2 separate regions of the Homo sapiens genome follow, and region 2 is linked to region 1. The links are contacts of gene promoters, found by promoter capture Hi-C in human tissues and cell types (Jung and others, 2019). All regions are on one chromosome and are shown on one strand. The core of a region is centred on a gene start or on the middle of the fragment in contact, and the rest is flanking DNA. Distances in the headings are between cores, read along the strand shown. Region 1 holds the start of CAPN1 (calpain 1). Region 2 overlaps BBS1 (Bardet-Biedl syndrome 1).

What was found. Contacts are between HindIII fragments. The study calls those that stand out against the background at their distance.
Region 2: a fragment that was not itself captured here is called in contact with the fragment with the promoter of CAPN1 in region 1 in 1 of the 25 tissues and cell types used here (hippocampus).

The regions. Positions count from the first base shown.
Region 1 is chr11:65,176,616-65,183,177 of GRCh38, forward strand. CAPN1 (calpain 1) reads left to right here and starts at 5,313. Exons shown (of 22, transcript NM_005186.4): 1 at 5,313-5,398; 2 at 6,086-6,353; 3 at 6,513-6,562. The coding sequence starts at 6,087. CAPN1-AS1 (CAPN1 antisense RNA 1) reads right to left here and starts at 5,219. Exons shown (of 2, transcript NR_145677.1): 1 at 4,610-5,219; 2 at 3,256-4,457. RefSeq lists silencers at 4,632-5,081, 5,683-5,977 and enhancers at 5,000-5,789, 5,790-6,562. The HindIII fragment of the contact is 8,891 bases long and covers 2,887-6,562 here.
Region 2 is chr11:66,523,873-66,526,372 of GRCh38, forward strand. BBS1 (Bardet-Biedl syndrome 1) reads left to right here. Exons shown (of 17, transcript NM_024649.5): 11 at 1-10; 12 at 2,251-2,320. It also overlaps a transcript of ZDHHC24 not described here. Among named protein-coding and RNA genes, the nearest start is that of BBS1, 14 kb to the left of the region's middle. The HindIII fragment of the contact is 5,922 bases long and covers 1-2,500 here.

The sequences.
Region 1 (6,562 bases), core at 4,063-6,562:
TTGAGATGGAGTTTTGCTCTTGTTGCCCAGGCTGGAGTGCAATGGTGCGATCTCCACTCACCGCAACCTCCGCCTCCATCTCCCGGGTTCAAGCAATTCTTGTGCCTCAGTCTCCCAAGTAGCTGGGATTGCTGGTGTGTGCCACCATGCCCAGCTGATTTTTGTATATTTAGTAGAGATAGGGTTTCACGATGTTGGCCAGGCTGGTCTTGAACACCTGACCTCAAGTGATCCACCCACCTCAGCCTCCCAAAGTGCTAGGATTACAGGCATGAGCCACCGTGCCCAGCCAGCTTCTGGCTGTATTTTCGTTTTCATTTTTGTACGTTTAAATATTGAAGGTTAACATTTAATTTTTATTTTTATTTATTTATTTTTTTTGAGACGTTGTCTCACTCTGTCGCCGAGGCTGGAGTGCAGTGGCGCAATCTTGGCTCACTGCAAGCTCTGCCTCCTGGGTTCACGCCATTCTCCTGCCTCAGCCTCCCAAGTGGCTGGGACTACAGGCGCCCGCCACCACGCCCGGCTAATTCGTTTTGTATTTTTAGTAGAGATGGGGTTTCACCGTGTTAGCCAGGATGGTCTTGATCTCCTGACCTCGTGATCCACCTGCCTCAGCCTCCCAAAGTGCTGGGATTACAGGCATGAACCACCGCGCCTGGCCTATTTTTTATTGATTTTTTAGAGATGGAGTCTTGCTTTGTTGCCCAGGCTAGAGTGCAGCGGTGCTCACTGAGGCCTTGAACCCCTAGGCTCAAGAGAGCCTCCCACCTCAGGCTCCGAAAATGCTGGGATTACAGGTGGTGTGAGATACCACACCAGACCTAGAGTTTTTATTTTTTAATTTTTAAAAAAATTTTTATTTATTTTTTTGAGACGGAGTCTCACTCTTTTGCTCAGGCTGGAGTGAAGTGGTGCAATCTCGGCTCACTGCAACCTCCGCCCCCTGGGTTCAAACAATTCTCCTGCCTCAGCCTCCCGAGTAGCTGGGATTACAAACGCCTGCCACCCACCATGCCCAGCTTTTTTTTTTTTTTTTTTTGTATTTTTAGTAGAGACGAGGTTTCACCATATTGGCCGGGCTGGTCGTGAACTCCTGACCTCAGGTGATCCATCTACCTTGGCCTCCCAAAGTGCTAGGATTACAGGTGTTAGCCACCACACCCAGCCTTTTTAAATGTTTTTTTCATTAGGAACAACATATTCCAAACCTATAAATTGAGTTCATCTGTAATTTTTTCTAAGATACAAATTATGAATCCAACTTACTTTTTTTCCAGATTGCTCCCTTTTCTTCCTAATGTCTTTTATTAACTCATCTTTTCTCAACAGATTAGAAATGGTACTTTTATCATCTACTACATTCCTGCCTGTATTTGAATCTGTTTCTAAATTTCTCTGTCTTCTATTGATCTCTATGTGTCAGTAACCCTCTTTAATTATTACCTTTTAATGATAGATTTGTTGTGTTTTAATATCTGGTAGGATTAGTCTATACTCATTATGTCTTTTATTTTCAGAAGTTTCCTACTTGTTTAATTTGCCATATGACCTTTAAATCAGCTTTTCTAGTCCCTCCTTATCTCCCACCAGAAGACTCTTAAAATTTTTCATTGTGATACACTTAGAGATTAATTTAAGGAGAATTGACATCTATATGAAGCATCTTCATATGAAGACCAAGGTGTCAGCCCCCTTGCCTCTGCTTTTTGGTGGCTAGTGACTCCCAAATTTGTACCTCTATTTTGAGCACAAGGTCTGTTCCTCACCCCTAGGAATCTCCTCTTGGATAGGGGGATCCCAAAGATACCCCATACCCTGATCCCATACTGTCCCTCCAGCTTAGTGCATTCCCCCTTCTCTTTAATCTACTCAGGTGCTCAAGCCAGATCCAGGGTCTGAAGTTGTCTTTGGTCTCTCCTGGTGTCCAAGAGCCATATCTAACCAGTGACTAAGTTCTATTTTTTTTTTTTTTTTGAGACGGAGTTTTGCTCTTGTCGCCCAGGCTGGAGTGCAATGGTGTGATCTTGGCTCACTGCAACCTCCATCTCCTGGGTTCAAGTGATTCTCCTACCTCAGCCTCCCTAGTAGTGGGGACTACAGGAGCCCACCACCACGTCCAGCTAATTTTTGTATTTTTTAGTAGAGACAGGGTTTCGCCATATTGGCCAGGCTCGTCTCTCGAACTCCTGACCTTATGTGATCCGCCCACCTCAGCCTCCTAAAGTGCTGGGATTACAGGGGTGAGCCACTGCGCTCAGCCTGTGGTATATTTGTAATCACTGATGAACCAATATTGACACAATATTATTAATTCAAGTCCATAGTTTACATTAAGGTTCACTCTTAGTGTTGTACATTCTGCAGGTTTGGATAAATGCATGTCATGCATCCGTCATTACAGTATCATACAGAATAGTTTCGCTGTGCTAAAAATGCCCTGTGCTCCATCCCTCTCCTACCCCTCTGAATCCCTGGCAACTGCTGATCTTTTTACCATTGCTAGTTTTGCCTTTTCTAGAACGTCATATAGAGTTATTGGAATCATACAGTATGCAGCTTTTTAATACCAGCCTCTTTTACTTAGCAATATGCGTTTAAGGTTATGCTATGTCTTTTTGTAGCTTGATGGCTGATTTCTTTGTATCGCTAAATTTTAAAGAAATTGCCAAACTGTCTTCCAAAGTGGTGGTGATCATTTTACCCTCTCTTGGTGTATGACAGCTCCAGTTCTTCTATATCCTTGACAACATAACAACACTTGGTATGGTTGATCTTAACTTTTAGCCATTCTAGTAGGTGTTCTTTTAGAAGCAGTCCTTCTAGTGGCTTTAATTTGCATTTCCCTAAGAGTAATGCACTCAGTGTTTTTTAATGTGCCTATTTGCCATCCAGAGATCTTTTTGGATGAAGTGTCTGTTCAAATGTTTTGTCCATTTTTTGACAGGCGCGGTGGCTCACCCTGTAATCCCAGCACCTTGGGAGGCAGAGGCGTGCAGATCACTTGAGGTCAGGAGTTTGAGACCAGCTTGGCTAACATGGTGAAACCCTGTCTCTACTAAAAATACAAAAATTAGCCTGGTGTGGTGGCGGGCGCCTGTAATCCCAGCTACTGGGGAGGCTGAGGCAGGAGAATTGCTTGAACCCAGGAGGTGGAGGTTGCAGTGAGCCAGGATCGCGCCACTGCATTCCAACCTGGGTGATGGAGCGGGACTCCATCTCAAAAACAAAAACAAACACCAGAAAACAAACAAATGTTTTGTCCATTTTTATTGGATTTTTATTCAATTGTAAAAGTTCTTTATACAAGTCCTACATCAGATAGAATTTTTACAAATATTCGTCCTAGTCTATGGCTTATCTTTTCATTTTTAATAGTTTCGTGCATTTTGAGAAACAAAAGCGTTTTATTTTGATGAAGTTCAATTTATTGATTTCTTCTATCATTTACACTTTTTGTGTCATATTTAAGAAATCTGGCCAGGTGCCAAAGCTCACACCTGTAATCCCAGCACTTTGGGAGGCTCAGGCAGGAGGACTGCTTGAGCCCAGGAGTTCATGACCAGCCTGAGTAACACAGCAGGACCCCATTTCTACAAAAAATTTAAAAATTAGCTGTGTGTCGTGGCACGTGCCTGTAGTCTCAGCTACTCAGGAGGCTGAGGTGAGAGGATCTCTTGAGCCCAGGAGTTTAAAGTTACAGTGAGCTGTGATCAGGGCACTGCACTCCTGCCTGGTCAATGAAAGCAAGACCCTGCCTTTAGAAAAGAAAAAAGAAATCTTTTCAAACCCAATATTGTTAAGATTGTCTCCATTTTTAAAAAAAAAAGTTTTATGGTTTGGCCATTTATATTTAGGTGTGTAATCCAGTTTGAGTTAAATTTTGATGGTGTATCCTAAATAGTTATCAAATCCATCTACTTCTGCCTGCCACCTCTCTAGTTTAAACCACCCTTCTCTGTCCCTGGACACCTGCGCAGAAAGCCTAGGAGCTGGTTCCACCCATCACTCACCAGGTTAGGTATTTCAGGCAAGTCACACCCTCTCAGGCCTCAGTTTTCCTCTTTTGTTAACTGAGGGTGAAAGTGGGGTTAGATTAGATCAGCGGCTCTTAACTTTTGAGGGGTCGTGGGCCCTAGAGTCCTGGGAACGCTATGCAGTTTCCTCAGCAAAATGCTTGCATCCACAACATGCAAGACTGCAGCAGCTGCTGGGCTGGGGCTGCGAGACCAGCGAAAAGCCCTGACTTGGGGGGGTCTCGGGAGTCTCTGCAGTCTCCCCACCCACACCCCCGGCCTCCGCGCCGAATCCTGGCCCCCCAACTTCTTGCAGCCCGTGAAGCAGGATCTCAGGGTCCTGGGGGTGGGGAGAGGGGGCTGCCGTCCTGCTCGCAGCCTCTGCCGCCCTCTCCTGGGTAAGGTGACACATGGGCGCTTCCAGGTGGGTGGGCTGAGAGCCTGGGGGAGAGAACAGGGATGTCCACCTCTCTAAGTTTCCAGGTTCAAGAAACCCCAGAACGTTAGAGAAAGATGGGCTCCCACAATTGCCCAACCCCATCCCATAGGATGCACGCATGCGGAAAGTCGGGCCGAACGGGGCAGGGACTTACCCAAGGTCACGCAGCGAGCCCGGTCCCCCTGCGTTCCCCGGGGAGCGCTGAGCCGGGACGCGGCGGTGGGGTGGGGAAGGGGAGTGGCGCGGCCCTGCGGGGTGAGGCTGCCGTTTGCTGAGTGTCCGGCAGGGGTCTGCTCGCTGCCAGCCCGGCCCCTCCTCAGAGCAGCTGCCGCAGCCCGAGGTAATCTCGGCCCCGCGCCGGGGCTGGCTGGGAACGGCGGGAGCAGCTGCGGTCGCGCGGAGCGAGGGGAGCTGGGGACCGGGCGGGCCCGGGGCTGCGGGAGGCGGCGCCGCCGCACAATCGCCCCGGAATGCCCGCCAGGGCGCGCGTGGGGTGCGGCCGTCCGGCCCTGCAACTCGAGCTGCTGCCCCTGGTTAAAAATACCCCCTGCCCGGCCCTCCCCCTCCGTTCCCCGCGGTGCCCTTCCGCCGCGCCCCAGCCCCCCCATCCCCCCCCGCGCTGGCCCCTCCCCGGGGACTGCTCTGCCTTTTACTAATTTGTCCTCTCGCGGAATTGGCCCCCGGCCTGCGGAGGGAGGGGCGGGGAGACACCGTGAGTAAGAGATAGTCAGAGACCGTGCCGGAGAGATAAGGGAGAGCCGAGAGGAAGCGGGGTAGGAGCCCCAGGAGGAGGAGGAGGAGAAGGAGAGAGGGAGGGCGGAGGGCGGAGGGGCGGCGGGAGGAGGGCGGGGAGGAGCGCTCTTCCTGGTTGGGCCCTGCCCTGAGCTGCCACCGGGAAGCCAGCCTCAGGGACTGCAGCGACCCCCAAACACCCCTCCCCCAGGTAAGAAGCTGGGTAGCCGAGCCGGGATTCCTTGACCCTGGCCACTGCTCCTGGGCTGAGGGGCTGCCCCAGCACGGTCCCTTCTCGGGGGCCTCTGCGTTCCTGGAGCAGGGGTGGGGGCTGGCGGAGCGGCACAGCCCAGGCGCCTGTCCCAGCCTGGCTCACCGCTGTCCCCAGGGGCTGGGCTAGGGCCCACCAGCTCTGATATCGAGCCTGCTGCGGGGGCCTGAGGAGGGGGACCCCGACCGTCTGGGGTTTTCAGCCCACGGCAAGGGGCCGGTGCACCAGGAGCTTGGTTAGTTTGGGGAGGGGGTTGCAGGCCTGTGAACAGGATCAAAGAGGCCTTCCCTGCTGTGTCCCACCTGCCCAGTTCCTTGTGCTGTCTGGAGGCTCCGCCCTGCCCCACCTGACCTGCTGGCTCACTACAGAGCTGCAAGCCCCTGACAATGGGATCCGGGAAAGGAGAGGTGGCCGGCACGCCTGGGAACTGGGAAATCCCTTTCCTGGATTCACTGGGAGCACCGGGAGGTGGCTGAGAACCCTACTTCTGTGAGGGGAGCAGTGAGGCAGGGAAACCCTAGGTTTGGGGATGGATAAGCAGGGGCAGGAGAGCAGAGCTTGCAGGCAGGAGCCCAGGTTCTAGTCTTGGGAAGGCCTGGGTTCTGAGCAGGCCCATCTGTCCGGCAGGATGTCGGAGGAGATCATCACGCCGGTGTACTGCACTGGGGTGTCAGCCCAAGTGCAGAAGCAGCGGGCCAGGGAGCTGGGCCTGGGCCGCCATGAGAATGCCATCAAGTACCTGGGCCAGGATTATGAGCAGCTGCGGGTGCGATGCCTGCAGAGTGGGACCCTCTTCCGTGATGAGGCCTTCCCCCCGGTACCCCAGAGCCTGGGTTACAAGGACCTGGGTCCCAATTCCTCCAAGACCTATGGCATCAAGTGGAAGCGTCCCACGGTGAGAGGGGCCATCCTGGGTGGGACTCGGCTAAGCCAGATCCTGGATGAGGAGTAGGGATGGGACTCCATGTCCCTGGTGGGGAATGGGGTCTGGGGTGGCCTGGTGCCAATTTCTGGGAGGGGCTGGCCGAGGAACAGGACTCTGGGTCTCTCGTAGGAACTGCTGTCAAACCCCCAGTTCATTGTGGATGGAGCTACCCGCACAGA
Region 2 (2,500 bases), core at 1-2,500, 1.3 Mb after region 1:
CCACACCCCGGTGAGCCCCATCTCCGGCATCTGCCACTCACTCCTCCTTGCCCTCGTCTCACCTCTGGGGCTTCTTAGCTGCCTCTTCCGACCACACATTGATGCATTTCAAAAACATTTGTTGAGGCCAGGCACAGTGGCTCATGCCTGTAATCCCAGCACTTTGGGAGGCCAAGGTGGGCAGATCACCTGAGGTAAGGAGTTCAAAACCAGCCTAGCCAACATGGCATAACCCCCTTGCTACTAAAAATACAAAAATTAGCCGGGCATGGTGGTGCGTACCTGTAATCCCAGCTACTCAGGAGGTTGAGGTAGGAGAATCGCTTGAGCCTGGGAGGCGGAGGTTGCAGTGAGCCAAGATCAAACCATGGCACTTCAGCCTGGACAACAGAGCGAGACTCCATCTTAAAAAAAAAAAAAATGTGTTGAGCACCTCATATGTACCAGTCACCATATTGGTAGGGGTGGGGGGTAAAATGATGACTAAGTCCTTGTTTTCAGGAGGCTTACAGTCTAAGGTAACAGCCAGCCAGAGACATAGCAAATTTAAAAGGGCCGACTGAAGCAGAGCAAAGTGCTAAAAAGCGCAGAGGGTGCTGAGTGACAAGGGTGGGGGGTGAGATAAATGGGGATGGACTCCATGGGACACTTCACAGAACAAGTGACAGTTCAACTGGGCCTCAGAACAGTTTGTCAGGTGGACAAATGGAGGAAGAACATTCTGCACAGAGAATAGCATGCACAAAGCCTGAGAAGTATGAAGGCTCTTGATTAAGGAATCCAGGTCATTTGATGAGTTTGGACCAGAGGTTTTCAGACTCTAAGTTGTGAATCATTAAATCAGTTTAGTAGATCACAACCAGCAACATTTTTAAAAATAGAATAGTAAATTCAAAGTATGTCACAAGTGAGGGCCAGGCACATTGGCTCACACCTGTAATCCCAGCACTTTGGAAGGCTGAGGCAGGCGATCACAGTTCTGGAACAGCCTGGCCAACATGGTGAAACCCCATCTCTACTAAAAATAAACAAATTAGCCGGGTATGGGCCGGGCACGGTGGCTCACGTCTGTAATCCCAGCACTTTGGGAGGCCGAGGCAGGCAGATCACAAGGTCAGGAGATGGAGACCATCCTGGCTAACACGGTAAAACCCCGTCTCTACTAAAAATACAAAAAATTAGCCGGGCATGGTGGCAGGTGCCTGTAGTCCCAGCTACTCAGGAGGCTGAGGCAGGAGAATGGCGTGAACCTGGGAGGTGGAGCTTGCAGTGAGCCGAGATCGCACCACTGCACTCCAGCCTGGGTGACAGAGCGAGACTCCATCTCAAAAAAAAAAAAAAAGCCGGGTGTGATGGCACACCTGTAATCCCAGCTACTTGGGAGGCTGAGGCAGAAGAATCACTTGAACCTGGGAGGCAAAGGTTGCAGTGAACTGAGATCGCGCCACTGCACTCCAGCCTGGGCCACAGAGCAAGACTCTGTCTCAAAACAAAAAAACAAAACAACAAAAATAAATAAATAATTACAAATACAAATAGAAAAATTAGCCAAGCATGGTGGTGCATGCCTATAATCGCATCTACTGGGAAGGCCGAGGCAGAATCACTTGAACCCAGGAGGCAGAGGTTGCAGTGAGCTGGAGATCACACCACTGCACTCCAGCCTGGGCAATGAAGTGAGACTCCATCTCAAAAAAAAAGTATGTCACAAGTGAAACTGTGTATGTGTGTGTAAATTGTCCTGTGTCACAGTATAAAATTTGCAAACAACTGGCTTGGGCCATAGGTGCTGGGAGGGCCGGTGGTATGCTCGTTGAAAGAAGGGTAAAGAGGAGAGAACTGACAGAAAAGGCGGGTTGGAGTCAAATGTGGAAGGCCTTCAGTGTCCTAAGAAAGAGAACAAAAGCCATTGGAGGTTTTCTATCAGAGACCAGACATATTTGTGTTTTTGAAAGGTAGCAAAGGCAGCATTGTGAAGGGCAGACTGGGGAGAAAGACCCGAAAGACGAGTCTGGGAGATCTATTAGGAGGTTGACCCCAAAAGTGAGGGCCAGTGATATTTGGTCTGGAACTGAGGTAGTGAGATTGGAGGGGAGATGAGAAATATAGGAAATATTTCAGAGGCAGCGATTCCCCAGGCCTGTCTCTATCACTTCTCACCTATTATATCTGGGGCCTCCCCTACCCATCCCCTGTCTTGCTTTCCTCTCCAAGATATTTCCCCAACTAAACTCTGACGTCTCCACATAGGATGCAGTGACCAGCCTTTGCTTTGGCCGGTACGGGCGGGAGGACAACACCCTCATCATGACCACTCGAGGTGAGTGGAGTCAGACCTGGCAAGGGCTTTGAAGTCGGGAGTGAAGGGACAGGCCTGCTTCTGGGGAAAGAGGAGGAGGTGGAAATGAAGCATGGGTGGACCTGGGTGTGGAAAGTAAGGCCTACAGAAGTGTCCTTCTGGAGCTAGGCCTCCACTGGGACAGCCCAAGGGCTGGGTCCT